Linked DNA regions of Homo sapiens: region 1 is linked to region 2. Evidence: promoter capture Hi-C in 16 types of primary human blood cells and fetal thymus (Javierre and others, 2016). All regions are on one chromosome and are shown on one strand. Each heading gives the region's core, a stretch centred on a gene start or on the middle of the fragment in contact. The rest is flanking DNA. Distances are from core to core; before and after follow the strand shown. Region 1 overlaps STXBP3 (syntaxin binding protein 3). Region 2 holds the start of HENMT1 (HEN methyltransferase 1).

What was found. Contacts are between HindIII fragments. The CHiCAGO score rates a contact against its expected background, and 5 or more counts as called.
Region 1: a contact is called between a fragment that was not itself captured here and the fragment with the promoter of HENMT1 in region 2, in 1 of 17 cell types (naive CD8 T cells). The highest score is 5.2, in naive CD8 T cells.

Annotation. Positions count from the first base shown.
Region 1 is chr1:108,749,359-108,754,105 of GRCh38, forward strand. It overlaps STXBP3 (syntaxin binding protein 3), which reads left to right. Exons shown (of 19, transcript NM_007269.4): 2 at 2,899-2,948; 3 at 3,705-3,786. Among named protein-coding and RNA genes, the nearest start is that of STXBP3, 5.1 kb to the left of the region's middle. The HindIII fragment of the contact is 1,618 bases long and covers 2,115-3,732 here.
Region 2 is chr1:108,658,295-108,663,336 of GRCh38, forward strand. HENMT1 (HEN methyltransferase 1) reads right to left here and starts at 2,799. Exons shown (of 8, transcript NM_001102592.2): 1 at 2,669-2,799; 2 at 1,570-1,668. The coding sequence starts at 1,590. RefSeq lists enhancers at 2,518-3,107, 3,108-3,696 and a silencer at 2,763-2,932. The HindIII fragment of the contact is 2,630 bases long and covers 1,234-3,863 here.

The DNA of each region.
Region 1 (4,747 bases), core at 1,674-4,173, 91 kb after region 2:
CAAAGAGAGAAAGGCTGTAAGATTGTGGAAAATCGAAAGATTAATATGATAGATGAAACTTTGATGATGAATATGGTCTCTGAGAAGACCAGCCACAGGAGCAAATTCTCTTACCTTTGCTCTGAGAACAAGCAGAGCAAAAGTAAGAGAATTGAGTCTTGAGATATATCCATATTTAGGATGCTAGAGAAATGGATATAAGGTCAAATGATTTTCATTAGTATTTAGAGGAAATACCTCCTTAGTTCTATAGTATTTGTTGATATGATTTCCTTTGACTCCTCTCTAAACATACCTACCTGTGACTGTGTCACTTTTTATGGGTGCCCTTACTATCTCCATAAAACTAGTTCGTTCTTTTAGACAATAACACTGACTCTGTAGGTATCTTCAGATTCTTTTTATTTTTTCGTCTGGCAGACACAGGTAGATCCAAGTATCTTCAGATTCCAAGACAGTTCTATCATTAGAAATTTAAAGCACATATGTAATTTTAAATTTTCTAGTAGTCACATAAAAAGGTAAAAAGAAAAAGGTAAAATTAATATATTATATTTGACCTAATAAGTTTTTTACATTCCTTTTTTTGTGCTAAGGTTTTTTGAAGTCTCATATGTATTCTGTACTTACAGGATATCTCAGTTCAGACTAGCCACATTTCAGGTGCTCAATAGCCAGATATGGCTGGTTTCCACCATCTAGGACAATGCAGTTCTAAGGTTTCAAAGACTGTAATGAGATGACTTCTGCTTGGGGAGCTTTTCTCCAATCTGCTCCATCATAAATTCCATGAGCATTCATTTCTTAAGAGAAAGACACAAATAAATCTGATAAAAACAAGCAAATGTCTTCAATTTTCAGCTGTTTGAGGTATAAGGAATGAAGCTAGCTTTGAAAGGAAAAGCAGCATAATATTTCTGTATCTGAGCTCTACCGGAGAAAATCCTTTATTTTTGCCTGTAGGGTTCTAGAAGCCAGCGCTTTTGGCTTAAATTATGGTTAAATATTTCGGACTTTCACCATAATTCTCATATAACACTATAATCCTCCTAGCAAACAATATATAATTATCTCAATTGATATTTCATAACACTTCCAAATCTTCTCAATCACAATACAACCTTCCAGATCACAATTCTAAAAATGACTATAAATAACTGAATTGCTTTTACTAACAACATTTCTGACACCAAATATGTGTTTTATTCCCCCCTCACACCAACCAGTTCTCCAACTCTGGACACCAGCTGTATTAGTGTCAGAATTGAAATGAATTGTAGGATATCCAGTTAGTTAGGAACTAGTTAGCTAGGAACACTAGTTAGTGTCAGACTCCACAGGTTTAAGGGCTCAGTCTCACAATACTGCCTTCACTTCAAATGCCAGTACCAAGTCCCTAGGTTACCCACACTTCTGTCTGTCTTGGCTACAAAGTCAGGAATTCCTACAACCTCCCTTCCCTTTCAGGTTCATTAATTTGCTGGAATGGCTCACAGAACTTCAGAAAACGCTTAACTTACTATTACCAGTTTATTACAAAAGATACAAATGAACAGCCAGGTTGGAGAGGTACATAGGGTAAGGTCAAAAAAGGTCCTAAGCATAGGTGCTTCTATCCACATGGAGTTGGGTGTCTCACCCTCCTGGCACATGGTTTGTTCACCACCTTGGGAGCTCTCCAAACTCTCTTAAGGGGTTTTTATGGAGGCTTCATTATATAAGCATGAATGATTACATCACTGGTGATTGAACTCAATCTCCAGTCCCTCTTCTTTCCCAGAGGTCCTGGGGTGGGGCTGAAAGTTCCAACCCTCTAAACATGGCTTGGTCTGGTGACCAGCCCTCAATCTAAAGCTGTATAGGGGCCCCTCACCCAAGAGTCATTTCATTTGCAGACGGAAGAGATGCTATCACTCAGGAGATTCCAAGGTCTTTAGGGGCTCTGTGCTAGGAACAGGGGGTAAAAACCAAATATTTTTTATTGTACCACAGTAACTGTTATTATTTATACCCTCTGATAGAAGAGCCGTCAGTTTTTAACATGACTTGTTACCAAAAACTTGTTGATAAATTTCCCAAAAGCATTAACTTAAATATAAATTAGGAAATAGAAAAGCTTAAGTTAATGAAATAACCATCTCATTAATAAGATTTAATGAAAAATAGGTTACTATAATTTATATTTTAATTATATTTTATGTATTACTATGTATTACTACCGATTTTAAAATCAATTGAACATTAATAAAACATAGTGTGGGAAATTGTTTTATTAAGTAGAACAGATATTTGTATAAATTGTCCACATGAATTATTTAATACATAATGGAAAATGTTTTTAAATCAGTGAACTAATTTTTAAAACATATTTAGATAATTTTGAAAGTCATTGTAAGGAACATATTTATTGATTATAAATCAAGACTGAATATTGGTATCCAAATGCTGTGATATGTATTGTTGAAAAGCATAATGTAGTAAATCAGTATGAAAAATGTTTATGCAGATTTGATCATCAGATATAATTTAGCAATGGGCAACTTAAGGATGTTCCCGTGGGTTTTTTGTTTTCATCTTGTTTTACTTGGGATTTAAGTAGAATAGGAAAAACCAAATCAGGTAATAATTTTAGAAATATTTTCTCGGTACGTTCATGTACTTAAATATATTAACCCTTTTTATAATACCTTTTAAAGTTAAAAAATTGATTACAGTTTAAATGTACTGTATAGGCTAGGTATTAGAATTGGATTTTTCCGTAAGGTTTAACAAATATGTATGCTTTTTATGTAGTTTAACAAATTTCAAATTGGATTTTTCCTTAGCCATTTTGGACCCTTTGGATTACTATGTTTCTGTTTATTTAATTCCTAAGTAATTCCTTTCTTTTTTAAACAGAGATAAAAGCAACAGTGTTTGATGACTGCAAGAAAGAAGGCGAATGGAAGGTAGAGTTTGCATACCTTGCTCTTATAAAAAATAATACAAACTTTAAAAACAATACAGTATAAAAACTACATAGTATTTACATGGTATTAGGTATTCTAGTATAAGTAATCTAAAGATAATTTGACGTATGTGGGAGGATGTGTGTAGGTTACATGCAAACACTACACTATTTTATATAAGAGATTTGAGCATCCATGGATTTTTGGTATACACAGGGGTCCTCGAACCCCCATGGATACCGAGGGATGACTATATAGGGTCTGGAATCACACTGCTTGGCTCCAAATACTAACTTCACCACTTAATAGCTGTGGCTCCTTGCACAAGTTACTTGACCTCTCTCTGCCCCATTTCCTTGTTTATAAAAATGGTGATGGTAATACCTCATATGGTAATTGTAAATATGAGGTGAATTAATCCATGGAAATTACTTAAAACAGTGCTTTGTGCAATAATTGTTCTACAAGTGGCAATTGTAATTTTAAGAAAATTTGATGTTAAACAGTGTCATTCAAAATGAATAAGCTCTATGTTTCAAATTAGAAATATTTCTGTTTGTTTACTTATGTACGATACTATATGCATGTATATTGAGAAAATCTCTAGCTCATGCAAGATAAAAGATGAGATCATTTTGCCTACTGTTCTGATATTTTGTGTTATAAAAGGCTTATAAAGTTTAATGGATAAAATTCTTTTTTTCATTCTTGGTAATAGGATGCTTACAGTATTTTTAAATTTGTGTTTGTTTTAAGATAATGCTTTTAGATGAATTTACCACTAAGCTTTTGGCATCGTGTTGCAAAATGACAGATCTTCTAGAAGAAGGTATTACTGGTAAGTGTTATTCTTGGCATGAACACTTTTTAATTGTAATTGGGGGAGATCTGAGGTATTAAATTTTAGTTAGTAGTTGTGTTTCTAAGGAGCTTATTTTTTTAAATTACTGTAGCCATAACTATTAGATTTAACATTCTTTTCTCTGAATCTTCTGTCAGTTTTTTTCCCTCAGCCGAGACATATAATTAAGACCTCTAACCAAGCCTAACTTAATTGCTTTGTTGAGGTTGTTCTTTAAATGTTTTACTCATATATACATATATATATATAAAACAATTTTGTATATTGATACACAAGCTTTACTTCAGTATTTTGATTTAGTTTATGGTTTCATATATCGCTTTAAAATGGATATCAAGATTTATGTCATAAAATCAGCTGTTGTACATGTTTACAAATGCATAATGCTGACTTCGTAAATTTATCTTTATTACCAGAAATGAGACAAATAATTATAAGTTTAAATCAGTTTTAGTATGAAAATTTGAAATACTTACAGATTCTGAAAAAAAATCATAATGTCATAAGAAGTTATCTTCCTCTAGGCGGGATTATGTTATTGAGATATTAATCTGTATTACCTATTGAGGAAAATACCAATATCTTGTAACATGCATAATCATGTTATTCTTAATTCATCATCCTTTAACTCACTTATTAAAATTTGATCTTCATAATAACCCTATGAAGACAGATAAATACTCTCATTTGTAATGAGGAATCTGAGGCTCCAAGTGAAATATAATTCATTTATATTTTGGATCCTAATGTAGTTTATGTACCGTCTGTTACTCCTAACTTAATGAAGTTCAAAAGTATACCCAGTATTCTCAAGAAAGTCTGACCATATAATATTTATGTTTTGATGTTTACACATAAAATAATCTTTTTTTTTTTTTTTTTGAGACAGGATCTCACTCTGTCACCCAGGCTGGAGTGCAGTAGTGCGATTTTGGCT
Region 2 (5,042 bases), core at 1,549-4,048:
GCCTGGCTAATTTTTGTATTTAGTAGTGACGGGTTTCACCATGTTGGCCAGGCTCTTCTTGAACTCCTGACCTCGTGATCCACCCGCCTTGGCCTCCCAAAGTGCTGGGATTACAGGTGTAAGCCACCACACCCAGCCAACACTCTTTTTAAGAGAGAGAGAGGATCTCACTATGTCGCCCAGGCTGGTTTAAAATTCCTGGGCTCAAGCAATCCTCTGGCCTCGGCCTCCTGAGTAGTTGGGCATCTGTAGGAACATTCCAACACACCAGCAAAAGACTCTCTCACTGACCAAACTTCAGTCAGGTTCCTCTGAGCCATCTTCTTGAATAGACCTCAAACCCTGGCCCCAATCCTATCTTTGGGCTGCCTAGCCCAGTTTTAATAAGAATACTTCTAAGTCAGTTTAGACAGAATCTTCTACCCCTGATATCTGATCACCCTATCTGGTCAAATTCTTCATCTTTGCAATGTTCTTATTGCAACAGTCCTCAATAAAGTCAGACTAATTTTTTCTTTAACATGACCCCAAGAAAAAACAGAATTTATAAGATTAATCTGTAATAGCTGTTACTATTCCTATACAGCAGTATTATAAAAGTAGTCCAAAGGGTATTTGATATCTGATGTAGCACTGTCCAATAGATAAAATACAAGTAGGCAACTTTCTTGTAGCCCAAGAATTGGAATTATAATCGGAATTAGAATATTTAAACCAATATATCGAAAATATAATTTTTACATAAAATCAATATAAGAGATTTTAGATTCTTGTTTTTCACATTAAGTCTTCAAAATCCAGTGTGCTACATATTTTGTACTTCTGCGTCTCAGTTCCAAAACCTTCATCAGAAATACTTGTCTGTATTGGATTTAAAAACTTTACATTTAAAATATACATGCACATACCCAAGTTATTCCAAACATACTTTTTTCCAATAATGTAATCAAATATCCAATTTTAAACTTAAAATTAAAAATGAAGTTATGAGCCCAGGTGGTCAGCGTTGCAGTTAACCGTGACTGGGCAAGTGCATTCCAGCCTGGGCAACAGAGCAAGACCCTGTCTTAAAAAAAAAAAAAATTAAAGTTCGGTTCCTCAATTCCACTAGCCACATTTCAAGTGCCCACTTGCCATGTGTAGCTACTGGACAGCAGGGAGCTACACCCTAGGTACTCCCAATGTGGTTTCCAAACCAGTGGCATCTTCACCTAGAAACTTTAGAAACACAAAAGCTTGGGCCTCACCCTAGACCTCCTTAAACAGAATCTGCAACTTAACAAAATCCCCAGGTGATCCATATACACAACCACATTGGGGAACACTACTTAGAGTGTTTTTAAAATAGATTTTGCTACTTTAACACCTAGTGATAAAAGTAAAAACATTTATTTTACTTACATACACCAAATGTGACTCTTTCATCTATGTATACCCTTGTTTACCTCAACCAACACCCCGGGAAATGCTAGGACCTAAATGTGATCAATTTTGTTTGCAATTATCTCACAATACATCCAGGTGATAATTCTTAAGAGTCAAAGACGCAGCTAAGAAGGGTGGCATTACCTGTAGATTATTTTCTTCCATTTTGTTTCGAAGTTTTGTTGAAACAAAAATGAAGATTTATCCTTCAAGCTCTATTTGAGAGAATCAGCACTGACTCAGCTGTAATAAATACAAAACCGTTTTTGTAAAGCGATACCTGAAAGAAATAGCTGCCTAGTTCAGAAGGGAAGAACGAAAGCCTCTTTCTTACTCCTTACTACAGTATATAATTTAAATAGAACGCTTAAAAGTAAATAATGAATTCACCTCTGAGTACTCAAAAAAAAAAAAAAAAACACGAAAGCAGGACTCGAACAGATATTTATACACCGAAGTTCATAGCATTATTCACAATAGCCAATCTGTGGATTAAATGTGGACTACCATTTAATCCACAGAATGTATCCAGTATTTTTTCAGACATTCGCAAACAGGCTCAGAAAGCGTAACTTTTCACTACGTCAAACCCTACTAAGAGCGAAAACAGCCATCCTTTCCCTTTACTATCATGAATAGTTCAACTAGATACAAACGGAGCAATCTTAGGAGTTCTGCCCATTTCATTGCTAAGACCCTCAACTTCAAATTTTTTCAAAAATTTTTCCACACATCGTCAAAATGAAATTTCGAGGGGGAAAAAAAGTGTCCTTGATAAACTAGAGATGCTCCAACATCTATTCAATTCACTCACGAACTTGAATTTAAATTTTAGTTCTCTATTGCACATGTGTCTCCAACAACTAGACTTTAATCTGGAATCTAGGCAACATGTTAGTCACCAACTTGTATTAAGAAACCCTGGCCGGGCGCGGTGGCTCACGCCTGTAATCCCAGCACTTTGGGAGGCCGAGGCGGGCGGATCACGAGGTCAGGAGATCGAGACCATCCCGGCTAAAACGGTGAAACCCCGTCTCTACTAAAAATACAAAAAATTAGCCGGGCGTAGTGGCGGGCGCCTGTAGTCCCAGCTACTTGGGAGGCTGAGGCAGGAGAATGGCATGAACCCGGGAGGCGGAGCTTGCAGTGAGCCGAGATCCCGCCACTGCACTCCAGCCTGGGCGACAGAGCGAGACTCCGTCTCAAAAAAAAAAAAAGAAAAAGAAAAAGAAACCCTGCTCACTGAAACCAACGCTTCTGTCTTTGTACGGGCCGTCGCTTCCATCATCCTGCGGTAAGCAGCATGCCCAACCGAAAAAACAAAGCTCGTCGCGGAGCCGCCAGCGTCCTCAACTCAGCGCCGCCCTGACGCCCGCGCACGCACGGCCTCGCTGCGTGACGCTACCGCCGCGGCTACGCCGGCGCCCGCACCCGCGCCTCGGCCTCCCCGCGGGGCTCGCCAACCTCGTGCGCTCTCACGGTCGGCCTTGGGCCCCGGGAGCCTCATGGTGCGCCGAGCTCCGTCCCTCTAGGCTCTCAGTTCCAAGGCGTCGGTTTTGCGTCTCGTAACGGCCGCTGTGGCGCATGCCCAGAAGCCATTTTCAAGGTCCTCTTCCGAACCTTGGCGAGGACCCCTGCGCCTGCCGCGCCGTTGACCCCGCTAGCGTGCGGCTGCGACGCGGCACGGTACGGCAGCTGTTGGCGAAGGCCCCCAACTCCGAGCGCGTCCGCAGACCGCGAGCCGGAAGGCGGCTTGGGCGGCTGTTGAGTTCGTGGCGCTCCCGAGGCGTGGCAAAGGCCTAAAAACGGTCCTGGCCAGCGGAAGGCGGCAAGAGGAGCAGCAAGGCTCCACGCGAGGCGGCCGGCGGCTGGAGTCCCAGTCAGCCTCCGCTTTCATCCCAGAGCAGTCCACGGGGGCCTTAAAGGAATGTAGGCTGGGTGAAGTTGGCCCAGTGACACCTGCGTTCAGAAAAACGTTCTTTCCGCTCCCAACGCCCCCTCTCCACCGCCACCCGACCCCCGAAATAGTTTTCCCCGAGTGTTGTGGATAGAACTGTTGATCTCTTGGAAAAGTTATTGTATCCTGCCATCCTTCCCTCTGGAGACTCCACTTAATATATATAAGTACTTTCTTTCCTGTATATGATGGAAGAGTATTAGGGGGGTGAGGGGAGGGACGAAGCTGCCTTCTTTAGGGAAAAAAGATTGACTTATATTTTGAAAGATGCAAAAGCTGGTGTTTTTGCTACTGAATTAATAGCCTATTAATATGCCACAAATGATATATTGGAACTGTATTTTCAAACATTTAACGCCTGCTGTATGCAAAGCACTATGCTGACAGCTTAAGGGTACCACAATGATAAATTACACCAATCTTGTTTTTGGCATTTTGGGGAGTCTAGTGTCATAGGTAAAGAAGTACATAACTAACAATAAGCTTCAAAAATTCAATCATAAGGCCCGGCACCGTGGCTTCCGCCTGTAATCCCAGCACTTTGGGGGATCACTTGAGCCCCGGAGTGTGAGACCCCGTCTCTACCAAAAAAAAAAAGAAATTAGCTGGGCATGGTGGTGCCTGCCTGTGGTCCCAACTGTTTGGGAGGCTGAGGCCGGAGGATCACTTGACCCCAGGAATCTGAGCCTGCAGTGAGCTATGATTGCACCACTGCACTCCAGTCTGGGCGACAGAACCAGACCATGTCTAAAAAGAAAAAACACTCAGTGATAATTTCACATTACAGTTTGAGAGGTTCCTGTTGACTTGGGGAAACTAGTTTTAGCAGACTTCATTAAAGGAGTGTACACCTTACTACAGGATGTAATTTAAAATAGAATGTTTAAATAATAAATTCACTTCTGGGTATATACTCAAAGCAGGAATTCAAACAGGTATTTGTACACCAAAGTTCGTAACAGCATTATTCACAGTAGCCAAAATGTGGAAACAACCCAAATGTCCATTAAAGGATGAATAAACAAAATGTGATATACATACAATGGAATATTCAGCCTTTATTTTTCCAATCAGAGTTTCAGGAAAATCAACCTTTAAAAGGAGTGAAATTCTGACATTTGCTGCCACATGGATGAATCTTGATGATGATATGCTGAGTGATATATAATCAGTCACGGAAGGACAAATACTGCATGATTCAATTTATATCAGGTACCTAGAGTAGCCAAATTCATAGAGACAAAGTAGAATGGTGGTTGCTACGGGCTGAGAGGAGGAGGGAATTGAGAGTTGTTTAATGGGTGATGGAAAAGTTTTGTAGATAGGATGGTTGCACTGAATGCCACTGAACTTAAAAATTGTTAAAGTGGTTTTATGTATATTTACCACAGTTTCAAAAATTTTAAGGAAAACATAAAAGCTATCATCTATACAGCATTCCTGGATCTAGGGTTTTTGCCTCCCCTGCTGGTTAGCCCATTTATGAACTTGAGCTCCTCATGTCCATTCCCTCTCCAAATTTGCCTATTTCATCATTCTCCTGGCCTCCTACTCTTATTAGAGTCTGAAAAATCATCCTTGGCTCTGTCCATTTTTGTCCTTCCCACACTTGGACAATCACCAAATTTTGACTTCTTCAAGCTGTCATCTACCATCTGTT